7 separate regions of the Homo sapiens genome follow, and all the other regions are linked to region 1. Evidence: promoter capture Hi-C in 16 types of primary human blood cells and fetal thymus (Javierre and others, 2016). All regions are on one chromosome and are shown on one strand. Each heading gives the region's core, a stretch centred on a gene start or on the middle of the fragment in contact. The rest is flanking DNA. Distances are from core to core; before and after follow the strand shown.

Evidence for each region. The method cuts DNA at HindIII sites, captures the fragments that hold promoters and counts their contacts. A CHiCAGO score of 5 or more calls a contact.
Region 2: a fragment that was not itself captured here is called in contact with the fragment with the promoter of IL1B in region 1 in 1 of 17 cell types (M2 macrophages); the score reaches 5.9 in M2 macrophages.
Region 3: a fragment that was not itself captured here is called in contact with the fragment with the promoter of IL1B in region 1 in 1 of 17 cell types (monocytes); the score reaches 6.3 in monocytes.
Region 4: a fragment that was not itself captured here is called in contact with the fragment with the promoter of IL1B in region 1 in 1 of 17 cell types (monocytes); the score reaches 6.0 in monocytes.
Region 5: a contact is called between a fragment that was not itself captured here and the fragment with the promoter of IL1B in region 1, in 7 of 17 cell types (M2 macrophages, monocytes, megakaryocytes and 4 more). The highest score is 12.8, in M2 macrophages.
Region 6: a contact is called between a fragment that was not itself captured here and the fragment with the promoter of IL1B in region 1, in 2 of 17 cell types (monocytes and M2 macrophages). The highest score is 5.5, in monocytes.
Region 7: a fragment that was not itself captured here is called in contact with the fragment with the promoter of IL1B in region 1 in 2 of 17 cell types (monocytes and M1 macrophages); the score reaches 6.9 in monocytes.

Annotation. Positions count from the first base shown.
Region 1 is chr2:112,835,428-112,838,127 of GRCh38, forward strand. It overlaps IL1B (interleukin 1 beta), which reads right to left and starts at 1,352. Exons shown (of 7, transcript NM_000576.3): 1 at 1,281-1,352; 2 at 756-817; 3 at 139-190. The coding sequence starts at 802. The HindIII fragment of the contact is 1,771 bases long and covers 1-1,479 here.
Region 2 is chr2:113,019,277-113,021,976 of GRCh38, forward strand. No RefSeq gene overlaps it. Among named protein-coding and RNA genes, the nearest start is that of IL36A, 15 kb to the left of the region's middle. The HindIII fragment of the contact is 5,467 bases long and covers 1-2,700 here.
Region 3 is chr2:112,684,361-112,687,060 of GRCh38, forward strand. No RefSeq gene overlaps it. Among named protein-coding and RNA genes, the nearest start is that of NT5DC4, 35 kb to the right of the region's middle. The HindIII fragment of the contact is 6,630 bases long and covers 1-2,700 here.
Region 4 is chr2:112,663,847-112,666,546 of GRCh38, forward strand. No RefSeq gene overlaps it. Among named protein-coding and RNA genes, the nearest start is that of SLC20A1, 19 kb to the left of the region's middle. The HindIII fragment of the contact is 1,027 bases long and covers 764-1,790 here.
Region 5 is chr2:112,593,960-112,596,659 of GRCh38, forward strand. No RefSeq gene overlaps it. Among named protein-coding and RNA genes, the nearest start is that of CHCHD5, 11 kb to the left of the region's middle. The HindIII fragment of the contact is 7,050 bases long and covers 1-2,700 here.
Region 6 is chr2:112,636,704-112,639,403 of GRCh38, forward strand. It overlaps LOC107985934 (a long non-coding RNA gene), which reads left to right. Exons shown (of 2, transcript XR_001739642.2): 1 at 1-867; 2 at 2,257-2,700. Among named protein-coding and RNA genes, the nearest start is that of SLC20A1-DT, 6.1 kb to the right of the region's middle. The HindIII fragment of the contact is 4,837 bases long and covers 1-2,700 here.
Region 7 is chr2:112,617,903-112,620,602 of GRCh38, forward strand. No RefSeq gene overlaps it. Among named protein-coding and RNA genes, the nearest start is that of SLC20A1-DT, 25 kb to the right of the region's middle. The HindIII fragment of the contact is 9,749 bases long and covers 1-2,700 here.

The sequences.
Region 1 (2,700 bases), core at 102-2,601:
GCCTGTGTCTCACTGGAAGAGGTTAAAGTCTTTCTAAAACAAAATACCATGGCATCAAAGTGGCCCAGAACTCCCTTCTTTGAGCTTTCCCTGTGTTAGAGCCCTTCCTTGGGTTGGGAGTTAAACCCATAGTCTTACCTTCATCTGTTTAGGGCCATCAGCTTCAAAGAACAAGTCATCCTCATTGCCACTGTAATAAAAACAGGGACATGTCTCAATTATGTCTTCTAAACAGGTTTATTTTTCCTTCCCTGTGTACAAGACTTGACTGTTCATAAGAAACTGCAAACAGCCTGCCTCTCAAAGCTGCCTGAAACACCTGGCAAGTTTCACAGTGATATGCGCAGAACAGTCCAGAAGGCAGATTCTAGGCCTGGCAGGTGGGCACCCTGGGTGCTCCCTGTTGGATCTTGAGGCCTAACCTCTAGCCCAGCAGAGTCAGCTAAAATCTGAGCTCTCCCTCTCCCTCCAAGCCACACTTTGCAAAGGGATTCCTTGTATTGTGGGCTTGGAGTCTTTTCTCCCCATTTGCCTCTGCAGGAAGCCCTTGCAACAACACATCTGGATAGCCTCCAGGTCCCAAGGCTGGAGGGACTTGTAATGGGAAAGTAGTCTTTAAATCAGATTTACTTGGCACCCTGTTTGCCACTGAAAGAGGCAATTTAGGGGAAAAATCTGGTCTCCAAGCACAGATAACACTCTACTCTTGAAAGAGGAGACCTGCTCATGTTACTGGTCTCAGCGTCTCCACTGACCTGTAATAAGCCATCATTTCACTGGCGAGCTCAGGTACTTCTGCCATGGCTGCTTCAGACACCTGTGTAAAAAGGAGAAAATGAGTGACTTCCCCATGACGGCTACGTTCATGTGTGATTTCTCTCAGCATCCAGTGCATGGCAGTCATGCAAAGAAATGATCTCTGAGTAAATGAATGAATGTGTGAAAGAGAAGTCCTTTGGGTCTAGAGAAAAGCATTTGCTAAACCAAACCCCAACTAGCAATGTATTGGCTAGGAGAGCTGGAGCAGAGGCTTTGACACTAACCTTTAGGGTGTCAGCTGTTAGATAAGCAGTATCCATTCCCAGAATATTTCCCGAGTCATAAGCATTATATTACACCTGGCATTTTTGCAAAAAGCTGAGAGAGGGAGGCAGAGAGGGAAGGAGAGGGAGAGACAGAGAAAGAAAGAGAGAGAGAGAGAGAATATGCATACACACAAAGAGGCAGAGAGACAGAGAGACTCCCTTAGCACCTAGTTGTAAGGAAGATTAAAGTCATACTTGAGCAATGAAGATTGGCTGAAGAGAATCCCAGAGCAGCCTGTTGTGCCTTGTGCCTCGAAGAGGTTTGGTATCTGCCAGTTTCTCCCTCGCTGTTTTTATGGCTTTCAAAAGCAGAAGTAGGAGGCTGAGAAATTTCTCTGTTGAATACCTGATTTCACAATCAAGTTAAAGGAAAGGGGAAAAGAGTATTGGTGGAAGCTTCTTAGGGGAGGGGACTAATAAACTGAGATAATTCTCTGGTTCATGGAAGGGCAAGGAGTAGCAAACTATGACACATTTTGCAAATGTATCACCATGCAAATATGCATTGTTTTCCTGACAATCGTTGTGCAGTTGATGTCCACATTAAAATACTGGATTTTCCCACGTTAGAAGAATGTTTAAATTTAGTATATGTGGGACAAAGTGGAAGACACACAGATTTATACATGCACATACTTTTCTTCATTCACTTCTTTGTACTTAAGTTTAGGAATCTTCCCACTTACAGATGGATAAATGGGTACAATGAAGGGCCAATAGCCCTCCCTGTCTGTATTGAGGGTGTGGGTCTCTACCTTGGGTGCTGTTCTCTGCCTCAGGAGCTCTCTGTCAATTGCAGGAGCCTCTGAGGAGAAAATTGACCTTTCTTGGCTGGGGCAGAGAACATACGGTATGCAGGGTTCAGGCTCCTGACGGAGTTGGGGCAACCCTGGAGATAAGCTCACACAACCCTGCAAGACCAGGTGCTGTTACCCTAGCCAATCTCATGGATGAACCAGATCAATGCCAGATGAGCTCTGCCTAAAATGATTTTTTGGTGAACTCTGAAAAGTGGAATATTGTTTCTGTAAGAATATCCATCTGAGACTCTATCTCTTGGTAATACCAACCAAGAGTTATCAGTTTCTCTTTAACCGAGACACCAGCAAAGTGCCTGCTCCAGGGTACTGCCCAGGGGAGCCCTCCATTTGTAGAATGAATGAGAGTCCAGGTTATGAACAGTGCCTGGAGTGTAGGAACACCCTCCTTTGCCTCTTTGACAGGTCTGCATCATAACACTTTTTTTTTTTTTTTGAGACAGAGTCTCACTCTGTCGCCCAGGCTGGAGTGCAGTGGCACGATCTCGGCCCCCTGCAAGTTCCGCCTCCCGGGTTCACACCATTCTCCTGCCTCAGCCTCCCCAGCAGCTGGGACTACAGGCACCTGCCGCCACGCCCGGCTAATTTTTTGTATTTTTAGTAGAGACAGGGTTTCACCATGTTAGCCAGGATGGTCTCGATCTCCTGACCTTGTGATCTGCCCGCCTCGGCCTCCCAAAGTGTTGGGATTACAGGCGTGAGCCACCGTGTCCAGCCTGTAACACTTCTTATAGCACTGAGTTGAAACCTTGCTCCTCCTGGTTCCTCCAGGAAACTGAAATCTTTTTGAGCCAAGT
Region 2 (2,700 bases), core at 63-2,562, 180 kb after region 1:
AGTCTACATTGGTAGCTACAAATGCATATCTGGAGTTTAGAGGAGACTTCTGGGCCAGGGATAAAATTGTCAACTGATACGGCTTGGCTGTGTTTCCATCCAAATCTCACCTTGAATTGTAATAATACCCAAATGTCAAGGGCAGGACCTGGTGGAGATAATTGAATCATGGGGACAATTTCCCCCATGTGTTCTTACAGTATGAATAAGTCTCACGAGAGCCGATGGTTTTATAAATGGGAGTTCCCCTGCACAAGCTCTCTTGCCTGTTGCCATGTAAGGTGTGCCTTTGCTCTTCCTTTGCCTTCTGCCATGATTGTGAGGCCTCCCCAGCCATGCTGAACTGTGAGTCCATTAAACCTCTTTCCTTTATAAATTACCCAGCCTTGGGTATGTCTTTATTAGCAGCATGAGAACCAACTAATACGTCCACATACACCCGTTCATGAAACAAATAGTGTCACCCAGTGAAATAGTATAAAGGAGAAGAGGATTCAAGGATGAGTTCTGAGGAATTTCAACTACAAGAAGTCACATGAGGGGGAGCCAGTAAATGAAAGTAAAAAGAAAATTTCAGTGAGTCTGAGGAAAGCCCAGAGAGACTTGTTGCAGAATCCCTAGTATGTGCATGTAAAGATGTGTGGGAGCAGTGGAGTGTGCCTAGCGCTGATTGAGATTAGGACAGCAGAGTGCCCATTGGCATCAGGAAACAGGCAGGGGTGTCATTGATGGTGCTCAGAAGAAAGGTTTTGGTGGAGAAGTCAGATGTCAGAGGTCAGACTGGAGAGTGCAGAGTACTGAAGGACTAATCAGTAATCAGGCATGTGCAAATGAAAATAACAGTGAGAGATTATATCAGTGGTCCCTAAGTTTTGTGGCGCCAGGGACTGGTTTCATGGAGGACATTTTTTCCATGGACTGGGGATGTGGGTGTTCTTAGAAGATCATCATGCATTAGATTCTCATAAGGAGCGCACACATAAATCCCTTGCACACGCACTTCACAATAGGGTTCACGCACCTATGAGCATCTAATACCTCCCACTGATCCGAAAGGAGGCAGAACTCAGGCAGTACTGCTCGCTCGCCTGCCACTCACCTTCTGCTGTGCAGCCCGGTTCCTAACAGGTAAGGACTGGTAACGGTCCATGGACCATGGCCTAGGGGTTGGAAACCCCTGCTTTATGTGCTAGAATAATAAAACTTTTTAAATTTTTAAAAAGTAAAAATGTAGGGCAGGGAAGAATGAAAACACCATTGGAAGTGTAAATTTTAAAAAAATTTCGGACCATGGCCTAGGGGTTGGAAACCCCTGCTTTATATGCTAGGACAACAATACTTTTTAAATTTTTAAAAAGTAAAAATGTAGGGCAGGGAAGAATGAAAACACCATTGGAAGTGTAAATTAGAAAAGCCACATCCAAGGGCAGATATTATCTATTGAAATAAAGAATGGACTTACTCCATGGTCAAGCAATTCATTTATCTATTTTTTTCAGCTATCTTGTCTAAGATCACTTATCTATTCCAAAGAAAGTCTTGCATGTCTGCACAGAAGGCATACACTAGAATGTTCATTGCCACATTGTTTGTAAAAAAAAAAAAAAAAAGTAGCAAAATGTGGAAACAGCCTAACTCTCCATCCATGAAGGAATGGCTAAACAAAGGATGGTAAAACCATTCTGTTGGGTGCTCTGCAGCAGTTGTAAAGGAATGAGACAGCCATCCATGCCAGTGTAGACAGATATTTGAACACATTTTTCAGTGAAAAAATGAGTTGGGCTGGGCATAGTAGCTCACACCTGTAATCCCAGCACTTTGGGAAGCTGAGGCAGGTGGATCACTTGAGGTCAGGAGTTCAAGACCAGCCCGGCCAACATGGTGAAACCCTGTCTCTAGTAGAAATATAAAAATTAGCTGGGCATGGTGGCGCCCTACGCCTGTAATCCCAGCTACTTGGGAGGCTGAGGCAGGAGAATCGCTTGAACCTGGGAGGCGGAGGTTGAAGTAAGCTGAGATTGCACCACTGCGCTCCAGCCTGGGTGACAGAGTGAGACTCTGTCTCGAAAAAAAAAGAAAAGTGAGTTGGAGAAAAATATGTATTTTATTATTCCAGTTAGAGAAACATGCACTCACATGGACACATACATACAGATGCACAGGGGTACACATAAGACAACATTGTATGCTTCCAATAGAGCCTATGAGTACGTAAATGCATAAGAAATAGCCAGAGTGACACCAATTCATAACAGTGGTTACCATTGGGGTGGAGAAAGAGGAACTAGGATCTGGGGGGAAAGAATTTGGATTTATCTGGTATATTTTAACTTTATTTCAAGATGAATGTGTCGATGTATTAATAACTGAAAAATTAACGTTTTTAAAAGTGAAAAGTGTAAACAGCATGTGAAGAAAGTAGCTTTAGCAGAGGCTGTGTTTCTCAAATGCTGTGGTCCCCGTTATGTTCTGTATGCTTGAAAATTTTCTGATACAATAGCTAGGTGTTGTTCTGAGCAAATCAGTGGATGAAAGAGTGGATACCCAGGGTGGCTACTCGGTGCCTACAGTAGGAGGCCTAGACTATTACTATTCCATTGTAAGAAACAACTGACTGTCTTTTCCATGGCTATAATCCCTAACTTTTTGTTGCTGCATCTTTTGGGAGAAAAAGACTCACTGGGATCCTATTACATAGGA
Region 3 (2,700 bases), core at 182-2,681, 150 kb before region 1:
TAGAAAGGCCTGAAATAGACGCAAGGATATATGATATATGGGAATTTACTGTGTGGTAAAAGTGATATTTTAAATCACTGGGAAAAGGAAAGATTCTCAACTGTGGGTGGTTTTGTCTCCCTGGGAGCACTTAGCAATGTCTGGAGACATTTTTGGTTGTCACAACTGAGGGGATGCAACTGGAATCTGATAGAGGTCAGAGGCGCTGCTAAACATCCTACAGTGCAAGAATAGCCTCCCACAGCAAAGAATTACCCAGCCCAAAACGTCCCACAGTGTCACTGTGGTGAAGTCTTGGGATACATGAGATAGTGGGAACAACTGGCTAGCCATTTGGGAGAGGAAAACGAAGTTAGATTCTGAATCATACCACAACTTAAATAATTTCAAGTCAGGTAAAACCTAAATTTTAATAAGTGGAATCATTAATAAGATCCATAATAAATTTAGAAGAAAACACAGATAAGTTCATCCTTATGGTGTAAAGATTTTTCTAACCACACAAAGCACAAACGTAAAGGAAGTACTCAGAGGTTTAACTCAATAATCATAAAAAAACACTACGCAGACAATATAAAAGACTAATAAGAGCTGCAGCATGTGAGACAAGGAATTAATGTCCTTAATATGCAAAGAGCTCATAGAAATGAGAAGACAATAGACTTCAGAAGAAAAAATGGGCAAAGAAAAGGTAGGATGAGGAAAGTTATTAAAAACTAAGACATATGGTCAGTAACCCAGGAACAAGTTTCAGTTTTCTGCAGTAAGCACAGAAGGGGAAGTTTTACCTATTAAACTGGCAAAGATGAAGAAAATGATAGAACCCCAATTGTATTAGGAAGGGTTGAAGAAATGGGTACTCTCATGTATTGCTGGAGGGGTGGAAAGTTACAACATTTTGGAGAGCAGTTGTCAAAATCATAAATAGCCCGGTGGCTCACGCCTGTTTGTTTATCTGCATTGAGGGGTGGGAAGTGGAGGTAGCTGGAGTATCTGACTCTTTCAGATGAAAAACCTAAGACTTTTATTTTGGACAGGGATTTTTCAAGCCTCCTTCTGCCTGTGCCACATTCTGCAAGATTCAAGGAGAAGAGAACAGAAGAAATAGAGTTCTAATAACTCCATCCATCCAAGTAGCTCATTGCTGTACCAGTACTGTCCAGTAGGAACATAATATGAGCCCATATGTAACTGTAATTTCTCTAGAAGCCACATTTTAAAAAGAAACAGGCAAGCTGGGTAAGGTGGCTCATGCCTGTAATCCTAGCACTTTTGGAGGCTGAGGTGGGAGGATTGCTTGAGCCCAGGAGTTTGAGCCAGACTGGGCAACATAGAGAGACCCCATCTCCACAGAAAAATTAGCTGGGTACAGTGACATGCCTTTAGTCCTAGCTACTCAGGAGGCTGAGATGGGAGGATTGCTTGAGTCCAGGAGTTGGAGTTTGCAGTGAGCTATGATCATGTCATTGCGCTCCAGCCTGTGCGACAGAGTGAGACCCTGTCTCAAAAACAAACAAACAAACAAACAAAACAGATGAAATTAATTATTATTATTATTTGAGACCGAGTTTCGCTCTTGTTGCCCAGCCTGGAGTGTAATGGTGCCATCTTGGCTCACCGCAACCTCCGCCTCCTGGGTTCAAGCGATTCTCCTGCCTCAGCCTCCCGAGTAGCTGGGATTACAGGCATGCACCACCATGCCCAGTTAATTTTGCATTTTTAGTAGAGATGGGGTTTCACCATGTTGGTCAGGCTGGTCTTGAACTCCTGACCTCAGGTGATCCATCTGCCTTGGCCTCCCAAAGTGTTAGGATTACAGGCGTGAGCCACTGTGTCTGGCGAGAATTAATTTTAATAATATGTGCTTTAACCTAATATATCAAAAATGTTATTTCAACACATAAGCAACATAAAAATTACTGAGGGACTTGATAACAGTTTTTGGTACCGGCCTTGAAATCTGGTGCATATTTTCCACTTAGAGCACATGTGAATTGGGACTAGCCACACTTCCCGGGCTCATTAGCCACAGTGGTTAGTGCTTACCATAATGGACAGTGCAGCTGTAAGCCTGATGAGGTAGGCAGGGCTTATTTCCCCCTTTTACAGATGGAAAAAGAGGTTCAGAAACCTACAGGTGTTCCTTGGCTGAGCAGGAACCCAGGGCCCAAGCCTTCCTGCTCCCCACAGGCGGCTCCTCCCATTCTCTGACTTCCTTCCACAGCCTGAAGCACAGTCCTGGCCTCCTTGCAGCTCACAGGCAATTGGAGAGGCAGAACCAACTTCAGCTCCAGCGTAAGGACTACCGTGACTGCAGTGGAGCGGGGCTTACCAAGCAGGGAGGGGGCCGTGAAGGCGGGAGGAGACAAGGCCAAGTTATCTCTCAGCGTCAGAATGACTTTGGCTATGAGCTTCGTGTAGGCAGGGCTCCCCAACAAGCTGCTCAGGCAGCAGATCTCCTGAGACCTTCCTGAGGAGCCATCTGCCAGCACTTTTTCTTTTTGTTTTGTAAGACAGGGTCTCGCTCTGTTGCCAAGGCTGGGCTCAAGTCCACCTACCTCAGCTTCCAAGTAGTTGGGACTACAGGCGCACACCAGCATGCCCTACTAATTTTTATTTATTTATTGTTTTTTAGAGATGGGGTCTTACTATGTTGCCCAGGCTGGTCTCAAACTCCTGAGCTCAAGCAGTCCTCCCACC
Region 4 (2,700 bases), core at 27-2,526, 170 kb before region 1:
CATACTCGAATCACCTGGGCTCCTGATCAGTTAGCCTAATATCATTCTTAGGTGATGTGAATATCTTAACAAGTGAGAGCTACTGTCCAACTTAAAGCTCCCAACCCCTCCCTGTATGCTTCTTGTGTGCCCAGAATATGCAAGACATTACTCCATAGGGACTGTGGTGGCAACTTGGCATTTTCCCTTTTAGTAGCACAGCCTGTACACTTTCATGTTAGCACACGGGTGTTTTTTTTGTTTTGTTTTTCCAGTTTTTTCTTTTGATACTTTTTGTTTTTTTTTTTGAGACGGAGTCTCGCTGTGTCACCAGGCTGGAGTGCAGTGGTGTGATCTCGGCTCACTGCAACCTCCACCTCCTGGGTTCAAGCAATTCTCCTGCCTCAGCCTCCTGAGTAGCTGGGACTACAGGCGCCCACCACCACATCTGGCTAATTTTTAGTAGAGACAAGCTTTCAGCATGTTGGCCAGGCTGGTCTCAAACTCCTGACCTCAAGTGATCCGCCTGTGTTGGCCTCCCAAAGTGCTGGGATTATAGCCATGAGCCACTGCGTCTGGCCTACTCATGGTTTTTCACAGCCAAAGATTTACTGTTGAATGGACAGCTTTATTTTACTATTTTATGTAGATTGTTTTTAGCTTTGGTATTACGGTAAACCCTTGAACAGTGTGGAGGTTGGACACCAACCCCCATGCAGTCAAAAAACCATGTATAACTTTTGACTCCAAAAACTTGACTACCAGTAGCCTACGGTTGACCAGAAGCTTTAGCAATAACATAAACAGTTGTGAACACATATTTTACGTGTTATATGTATGTATTATATACTGTACTACGATAATGTAAGCTAGAGAAAAGGAAATAAAACCATAAGGAAGATACATTTACTATTCATTAAGTGGAAATGGATCATAAAGGTTTTCATCCTTGTCATCTTGAGTTGACTGAGGAGGAAAGGAGGAGTTGGTCTTGCTGTCTCAGGGATGGCAGAGGTGAAAGTAAGTCTGTGTATAAGTGGATTCTGCAGTTCAGACTAGTGTTCAAAGGACATCAGTACAAGGAAAGCAAAAATGAGTGGGAGGCAATGTGTAGCTAAGTTTTGTTTAAAAGTTCTCAGTATGGGATTCTTCAGTTCTGACCCATTATATTTTTGCCCCTGATCAGAAGTTAATGAAAAGTACATTTCTTGGCAAACTAGATTGATAGTTCCTGTCCTGAGGGTTTGGAACAATACTTTTGAATTTTGAGTTTATTTGGAGCGTTTCACTAGAAACCAACACTAAGAATCGAACAGGGTAAGGCAGTGCCTAGTCTAACCTGTGCCTGCAAGGTTAGGCCACTGGCTGGGTACATGCCGTTGCATCCTGCTGTCAGTTTAATGGTCTTGCAGAAGACTACATTTAATCCTCATGGCCTTTTGTGGTAGATCTTATCCTGATTTTGTACATGATGAAACTGGCGTGGAGAACATCTGTATTTGCCCAGTATTGTCAGTTAGCAGAGGGTGCCCGTTACTTGTAGCCTTTGGGGCTGGGTGAAACTAGCTTTATGACTTGTTACTTGAGGGAAGGGAGGGTAGGGGGCTGTTGTAAAGGGCGACCGAGCATTAGGCCTTGAACTGAGGGTCTGGGAGGAGACCCTCAGAGTTCTGGCACTGCCTTCCCTTCGTGCTGAATGACCTCACAAAAGCCCAGATCCTTTCAGAGCCCAGTGATTACATGGAGAAGAGGAACCTCCCTGGCACTTTCACTTGGCTCAGGACAGAACAGCTGAGAAAATACTTAGACCAAGCTTGTCCAGCTACAGACAATTTTTCCAGTGTGGCCCAGGGAAGTGAAAAGATTGAACACACCAAGGATGTGTTTCTGTAGGCAGAGCAGGTAGACCTGGGGAGAGGAGCCTCTAGAGCTAGGGAAGGGACCAGAGGAGCGGTTATATTTCTACTTTAGTTGTCTGCCATGGGGCAGGGACACATGGTGAGAACCCTGGCCCCCCCCTTTTTTTTCGGCATAGATATTGCCTTTTCTTTTTTTGAGACAGAGTTTCGCTCTTGTCACCCAGTTGGAGTGCAATGGCGCGATGTCGGCTCACTGCAATCTCTGCCTCCCAGGGTTCAAGCGATTTTCCTGCCTCAACCTCCTGAGTAGCTGGGATTACAGGCTTGCGCCACCACGCCCGACTAATTTTTGTATTTTTAGTAGAGACAGAGTTTCACCACGTTGGCCGGGCTGGTCTCAAACTCCTGACCTTAGGTGATCCACCCACCTCAGCCTCCCAAAGTGCTGGGATTACAGGCGTGAGCCACCACGGCTCAGCTGACATTGCCTTTTCTTAACTAAAAGTTTTTTGAAAATCAAGGTTGGGCAAATTGAAGAGCCAGCTGGTCCAACAAGGCTTGTTAACAAAAACAGGTCTGCCAACATTTCCCTTTCCTGAGGCAACCACTTTCAATTCTTTTGGTATTTGTCTCTTTATATCTAAATAATATACTTGTGTTACTATTTCCCTCTCGCATTTTTTGGCTGAGTGCGGGTGACACTTCTGGGACTACTGGGCCTTTGTCTTGGGTAGGAGTTCTCCACCAGGGGTGACTTTTGCTGTCCCCAGTCCCCATTTGTGACTCTCCCTTGTCCCATTTATGGTAGTAATATTTGGAGACATTTTTGGTTGTCACAATTGGGGGATGGTACTGACCAGAG
Region 5 (2,700 bases), core at 182-2,681, 240 kb before region 1:
GAAACAGACCCTGGGACAGAGAATTAGAGGTTGATCCCAGTAAGCATTACTAGGGCAGTGGGAAGTGAGACAGGGACAGTCGTCTTGAGTACAATTTTCTATACTGTTTTAACAACTGTCAGAATAATTTTTTAATGGCCCTCCACATTTCTACTCTTCTTTCATCTTTACATGGACTCTGCAGGTTTCCTCCTAGCTCTCTGGCTATGCCACCACCTTCTCCCACCCAGCCGTGACATAATGATTTTCTTCAAGGCTTACACCAGGCCTCTTCTTATTCTCTCCTCTGTGCAGTGATCTCCTTCCTAGAGAATATCAGATAAGTCATTGGTTCACAGATGGTTATCTCCAGCCCTGGCTTCTGCCTTGGGCTTCCACCTGCTGCCATGGACCTTCATATAGATGTCTCAAAGGGAGCACTAAGTCCCAATGTGTCCGGAATTGCAGCAGGCATTATTTTCCCCAGCTTGTCATTCTCACCACCATTTCTTTGCACTCTGCCCCTGCAGAAGGTTTGGTATTGTTATTGTTGTTGCTGTTCTTTTTCTTAGAAGGCCTCACTCCATCTTAAGCCTGGATTTACAATTCCCCTTTTCATTTTTTTTTAATTTTTGTTTTATAGTTTGGGTATACAGTTCCCCTTTTGTTCATTTTATTTATTTGTTTGTTTATTTATTTATGAGATGGGGTCTCACTCTGTTGACCAGGCTGGAGTGCAGTGATGTGATCTCGGCTCACTGCCACCTCCACCTCCTGGGCTCAGATGATCCTCCCACCTCAGCCTCCTGAGTAGATGAGACTACAGGCACGCATGCCCAGCTAATTTTTGTCTTTTTAGTAGAGATGGGGTTTCACCATATTGTCCAGGCTGTTCTCTAACTCCTGAGCTCAAGAAATCTGCCTGCCTTGGCCTCCCAAAGTGCTGGGATTACAGGAGTGAACCACCATGCCCAGCCCCTTTTGTTTATTTTAAAGCTGAAATGAGGACTCAGTTAATTTTGTTGTAGTCTTGTCTGGTGAGGGGCGATTCTTCACCCTTGCTGCCGTCCCTCACACTCTTCCTATTTTCTAAATATGCAGTCAGTCATTTAGATCACATCACCTGTATGAATAAAAGCCTTTCATGTCGGCTGCATTCTTCAGGCTTCTAACTTCTTGCAATTCATCAGTTACGTCTAGTTACATCTGTGGATTCCTGCACCATTGCAGATGCAAAGCAGGAGAAAAGAAGGGTTTTCTTTTCATCTTTTTTTTTTTTTTTTTCTGAGACAGAATCACTCTATGGCCCAGGCTGGAGTGCAATGGCATGGTCTTGGCTCACTGCGAGGACCGTCTCCCGGGTTCAAGCATTACTCCTGCCTCAACCTCCTGAGTAGCTGGGATTATAGACATGCACCGCCACACCCAGCTAATTTTTTTGTATTTTTAGTAGAGATGGGGTTTCAATATGTTGGCCAGGCTGGTCTAGAACTCCTAACCTCAAGTGATCTGCCCTCGTCTGCCTCCCAAAGTGCTGGGATTCCAGGCGTGAGCCACCACACCCTGCCTTCATTTTTGTTTTGAAGGAATTACCTCCTACCCCTTAAGTCCTGCAGTCCCTGAACTTGACCTTATCTGCAGCAAAGATGAGAAAGGGGGAAGGTATGATAAAAGGAGAAAACACTTGCCAATGTTTTCTAAATTAACCCCTGACATTAAAATTTAACATTTTCTGCACTTCCTGATCACAGTCCTGTCTTTTACTCAGTTGTGGGCGTGCACTTTTTTTTTTTTTTGAGGTGGAGTCTCATTCTGTTGCCCAGGCTGGAGTGCAGTGGCGCAATCTCAGCTCACTGCAACCTCCACCTCCCGAGTTCAAGCGATTCTCCTGCCTCAGCCTCCTGAGTAGCTAGGACCACAGGCACGCGCCACCACGCCCAGCTAATTTTTGTATTTTTAGTACAGATGGGGTTTCACCATGTTGGCCAGGATGGTCTCAATCTCCTGACCTCGTGATCCACCTGCCTCAGCCTCCCAAAATGTTGGGATTACAGGCGTGAGCCACCGCGCCCAGCCTGGGCATGCATATTTTATGGATCTTAACTCGACTTTTAAATTTTCTTTGAGCATCTGGGAATTTTATGAAAGCACTTTGTTAGTTTCTATTAGTGTCCCCTATATCCAAAATTCTCATTAAAGAATGCCGTTTCCCATCTCTCAAGAATTTATCAATTCAGGCTGGGCATGGTGGCTTACGTCTGCAATCCCAGCACTTTGGGAGGCCAAGGTAGGCTGATTGTTTAAGGTCAGGAGTTCAAGACCAGCTTGGCCAACATGGTGAAACCCCGTCTGTACTAAAAAAACAAAAATTAGCTGGGCATGGTGGCAGGTGCCTGTAATCCCGGCTATGCGGGAGGCTGAGGTAGCAGGATTGCTTGAGCCCAGGAGGCAGAGGTTGCAGTGAGCCGGGATCACGACGCCACTGCACTCCAGCGTGGGCGACAGAGTGAGAGTCTTTTTTTTTTTTTTGAGACTCACACTGTGCACAGGAAGAAAATTATGTGAATGTCCTTCCTAACAGGGAGAGGCCTTCCCTGACCTTGCTCCCCTTGGGCTGCCATCAGCATGGGGCTTTCTTAGGTATCAAGGCCACCTCAGTTTGGAGAGATGCCAGAAGTGGAAGTGTCAGCCAGACCATGTTTTCATTCTACTTGTCTATAT
Region 6 (2,700 bases), core at 139-2,638, 200 kb before region 1:
GCATAAGCAGACAGATGGGAAGTGAAAGTGGGTAACCACTGAAAGGTGAGGGCGAGGGCTGGTTTCATCATCAGCGCCGCTGGCAACAAGAGCTATTAAGAGCCAGCCTTTGGCGAGACAGTAAGGAACTACAGATTTAAAATTCCTAGCAGCAAAGCTGTGTCTCTTCAGGGTTTGGTTACCCATGCTGATCCCATAACAACCACCATGCCAATGGCAGGGAACATCAACAAGCAAGGTGGTGACCATGAGGATGACCTTGCCACAAAACCAACCATACACCCCACACCCCTGGGGAAGGAGGCACCCACCAGCTGGGCCCTGTGGGGCTGTTCCAGAAAGTGCAGGTTGGGAGGAGGATGGAGTGAGGAAAGAGGCCAGGGTCTAAATGGAAAGGGCCAGTGAAAGGGAGAGACAGGCTTGTTAATCAATGACCACTACAGAGTTGGAAAGAGAAGGCAAAGAAAATGCCTCACTGCTGAGGATCAGCGTCCAAAGATTTCATTCTACTGAGAGTTAAAGAGATGCCAAAGCCGGGATTAATGTTGGCAAAGGAGATATGGATGGGCCATGACACCACCAGCCATATGTAATCAGAAGGGGATCAAAAAACATCCCCAGCCTTGAAATTGGCATTTTCTCTTATGTGCTGGGTGGACATTTGGCAATATCATATAAAATGAAAATATTTGCATAGCCCATGACCCAGAGAGTCCACTTGCATAAGGACGTGCTTTATAATGGTCTATTCCACTGCAGATAATAAAAGAAGGCGTGCAAGAAGATCTATATGCAGTGACGTGCAAAGGTATCAAGAACAAGTTGCGAAACCCCATGGTATGATTTCATCTGATTAAAAGAAAAAAGGTATACACTATATATTATAGTGAAAATACCTATGTGTGTGTGTGTGTGTGTGTGTGTGTGTGTATTACAAGTAATGATTAAAAGTAGTTATGTCGGGGGGTTAGACTAGAAAGTTGAGATTCTAAGGAGGAGCATTTTTCACTTGATATTCTTCTCTATGGTATAGTTTTTACATGAGCTTTTTTTTTTTTTTTTTTTTTTTTAGACAGAGGAGTCTCATTTTGTCTCCCAGGCTGGAGTGCAATGATGTGATCTCAGCTCACTGCAACTTCCATTTCCCAGGTTCAAGAGATTTTCATGCCTCAGCTTCCTGGGTAGTTGGGATTACAGGCATGCTCGGCTAATTTTTTTTTTTTTTTGATACCGAGTTTCGCTCTCGTTACCCAGGCTAGAGTGCAATGGTGTGGTCTTGGCTCAATGCAACCTCTGCCTCCCGAGTTCAAGCAATTCTCCTGCCTCAGACTCCCTGAGTAGCTGAGATTACAGGCATGCTCCACTATGTCTGGCTAATTTTTCGTATTTTTAGTAGAGACGGGGTTTCTCCATGTTGGCCAGACTGGTCTTGAACTACTGACCTCAGGTGATCCACTCGCCTCGGCCTCCCAAAGTGCTGGGATTACAGGCATGAGCCACTGCACCCAGCGAGCATGTATTATTTTTATAATAATTTTTAAAAATCTTGAGCTCCTCTTGCCCTAAACTATTTCCCCTATTAGTCTGGTTGTTTCGGTGCCCATATATTATGAAATAATCAGAATACAAGTCTGATAAATATGAATTCTAGTGGGGACAATGGAATAGGGTATTTGCAATTGAAGTCACTGCATGAAGTACTCTCTCCCTTGTCCCTTTCTCTCCCTTCTCTGGCCTGAATGTCCCATCCCTATCCCCATACCTGTAAGTCACTCCTCTGGCTTAAATGGGGAGTTAACACAGGGTGGTGGGAAGTATAGTAGACTTGGAGTCTCTCACGCATTGCCTGCCAGGGCCCACCGTGCAGGACTCCAGGCCCTACTCTAAAACTTGCTACTTGCCCGACTGCAGGCTCTCAGACCCTCATTTCCCTGTGATAGGGTAAAAAAAATACTTGCTCTGCCTACATCACACAGATGTGAAGATAAAATGAAACAATGCCTTTGAAGGTATCTGGAAACAGGAGAGTGAGTCCTATATATATCTATATATATGTGTGTGTGTGTGTGTGTGTGTGTGTGTATATATATATATATATACACATATATGGTTTTTATAAATCAGCGTTAACATTTGATTTTATAACCATCATTAAAAAGGGAGAGGTAAATGGGTGGAGAGGGAGGAGTGAAAAAACAAAATAAAAGGTAGAGGCAGTATTCAAGGTCACAGTTAAAAATTTCATATTCCCTGCAGGTGGTAGGTGCTGAATGGTTGAATAAATGAACAGTCCTAAAATGGATATATTTTGGGGCAACAGTAAGTTGCCCCCAGGAAGAAAATCACTTTTGGAAAATAAAACTGGCAAGAATCTATGCTAAATGGATGAGACCAGCCACAGAAGCACTTCATCCTAAAAGATGGTAAAGGTGGTGTATACAAAATTAGGCCGGGTGCAGTGGGTTATGGCTGTAATCTCAGCACTTTGGGAGGCCTAGGTGGGTGGATTGCTTGAGCCCTGGAGTTCGAGACCAGCCTGGGCAACATGGTGAAACCCAGTCTCTACAAAAAATACAAAAATTAGCCATTCGTGGTGGGATGCAACTGTAGTACCAGGTACTGGGGAGGCAGAGGAAGGAGGATCACCTGAACCTGGGAGGTCAAGGCTCCAGCGAGCTGAGATTGCACCACTGTACTCCA
Region 7 (2,700 bases), core at 54-2,553, 220 kb before region 1:
ATTCCCAGCATTTTGGGAGGCCGAGGCAGGTGGATCACGAGGTCAGGAGATCAAGACCATCCTGGCTAACATGGAGAAACCCCGTCTCTACCAAAAATACCTAAAATTTAGCCGGGTATGGTGGCAAACGCCTATAGTCCCAGCTACAGTCCCAGCTACTCGGAGGCTGAGGCAGGAGAATCTCTAGAACCAGGAAGGCGGAGGTTGCAGTGAGCCAAGATTGTGCCACTGCACTCCAGCCTGGGCGACAGAGCAAGACCCCGTGTCAAAAAAAAAAAAAAAAAAATGCTGGGCGCTGTGGCTCACACCTGTAATACCAGCACTTTGGGAGGCCAAGGTGGGTGGATCACCTGAGGTCAGGAGTTTGTGACCAGCCCGGCCGATATGGTGAAACCCCGTCTCTACTAAAAATACAAAAATTAGCCGGGCGTGGTGGTGGGCGCCTGTAGTCTCAGCTACTCAGGAGGCTGAGGCAGGAGAATTGCTTGAACCCAGGAGGCGGAGGTTGCAGTGAGCTGAGATTGCGCCACTGCACTCCAGCCTGGCGACAGAGTGAGATTCCGTCTCAAAAAAAAAAAAAAAAGAAAAAAGCAGCATAGTTTGGTTTCCCCAGGGGTGAGCGTGGGAGGGAAAGGAGGAATGAAGAAGGAGAGTATATTGTGTTGGTTTGGGTCTCTTACAGACAGTCTGGGCCTCCTCCCCGACTCCTCAAACTCACACAGATTCTATTTAAAAAGGAAGTTCCCTTTTGGGGTATTGGCACATTTAGAATCCATATTGTCTGTTTTAAGTGTGTACTCTACTGAGAATTGAGCTTTGGTTCTCTATGTACCCTTTTTAGCTTCTCCTTTAAGCATCCATCTCTCTCTCTCTCTTTTTTTTTTTTTTTTTTTTTTTTGACACCGGGTCCCATTCTGTCGCCCAGGCTGGAATGCAGTGGTTCAATCACGGCTTACCCTGCAGCCTCAACCTCCTGGGCCCAGGTGATCCTCTCACCTCAGCCTTCCCAGTAGCTGAGACCACAGGGGTGTACCACCACACCCGGATAATTTTTTGTATTTTATGTAGAGACAGAGTTTCACCATGTTGCCCAGGCTGGTCTCAAGCGATCCACCTGCCTCAGCCTCCCAAAGTATTGGGGATACAGGTGTGGGCCATGGCGCCCAGCCTCATTCCATCCTTTTATGGCATCTATTGCCTGTGGGTGATGAGGGTCCTGAGATGTCCTGGCAATGTCCAAGGTGGTTGGCCAGTGTTGGGTACTCTTGACTATAAATGCGCATCATTTGATGAGATACATTCAGGGAATCTCAGTATGTAACACAGGTCATCTGCGAGTCCCTAAATTTATGTTACATCTACCTCCTATCTGTGGTAAGGACCTACATTGCCATGCCATACCCAGAAAGGTGCCTACTGTAGGAAATGCTTAATTGCATCCCCAAGTGGAGCATTTAGGAGGTTATGTAGCCTATTTGCCAGGACTGGCCAGAATCTGGTGTCCTGAGTTTATATGTGCCCTGGAGTTTTCTTTGCCCCTTGACTGACAGGCTCATTTACCAGACTTCGGTGGCTTCCTGTGCTGGAGTCATTCATCTTTGCTTTGGGTCCCAGTCCTGCACTGTAGACAGAATGTCGTGGCCTCTGTGATGATGTATTCAGTTGTCCTTACCTGGAAGGCACAAGTCTGATTGGGTTTTGAATTCCACTCATGCTATTTCTATGGACATCCACATCCATAAAACAGAGGGCAGTGGTGTAGTATTAATAAAATCTGAGGCTGGGTGCGGTGGCTCATGCCTGTAATCCCAGCATGGGAGGCTGAGGCGGTGGATCACTTGAGGTCAGGAGTTCGAAACCAGCCTGGTCAACATGGCAAAAATCTCATCTCTAATAAAAAAAAAAAAAAATAGCCAGGCATGGTGGATCACCTGAGGTCAGGAGTTCAAGACCAGCCTGGTCAACATGGCAAAACCCCGTCTCTACTAAAAATACAAAAAAAAAAAAAAATTAGCCAGGCACGGTGGTGCAAGCCTATAATCCCAGTTACTTGGGAGGCTGAGGCAACAGAATCACTTGAACCTGGGAAATGGAGGCTGCAGTGAGCTGAGATCGTACCACTGCACTCCAGCCTGGGCAACAGAGGGAGACTCCATCTCAGAAAAAAAAAAAAAAGTCTGATACCATAATGTTCACTGCCATAGGGATTGAGACTTGATCATTTAGTCTTGCTTCCAGGCACAGGCCCGCACTGCCAGCCCATTGGCTACCGTCTCTAAATCAATGAAAAAGCAGCAAGGAGCATTTTGGAGGGGTTTTTCAGGAAAACCACCACTGTCCCCAACTCTGTCCACTGGGTAGTACCTTTTTTTTGTGTGCAAAATTTTAAACAGCTTTTGTTTTCCCCTGTGGCTGCACAGCTGCAAGGGCCAAGAACAATCCGCCAGCCTGTAACTTAGCGGGCTCCATCTGTGAACCAGCTTCAGGCATCCTCAGGGACTTGGTGTATCAATGCCTCCATGAAGCTGGAGGTGCTGGCACAAAATGTTCCTCTGGGATCAAGGGATGTCTGGCCATCTTGTAATGCCATTATGTGACTCTTTTGATGCCTGATGACCCCATTCTACAGAGTAGCCAGTCACTGGCACTTGTAGCTGAAAAGGATCATTAGAGCTAACTGGCCTGAGCAGAGTGCAGTCT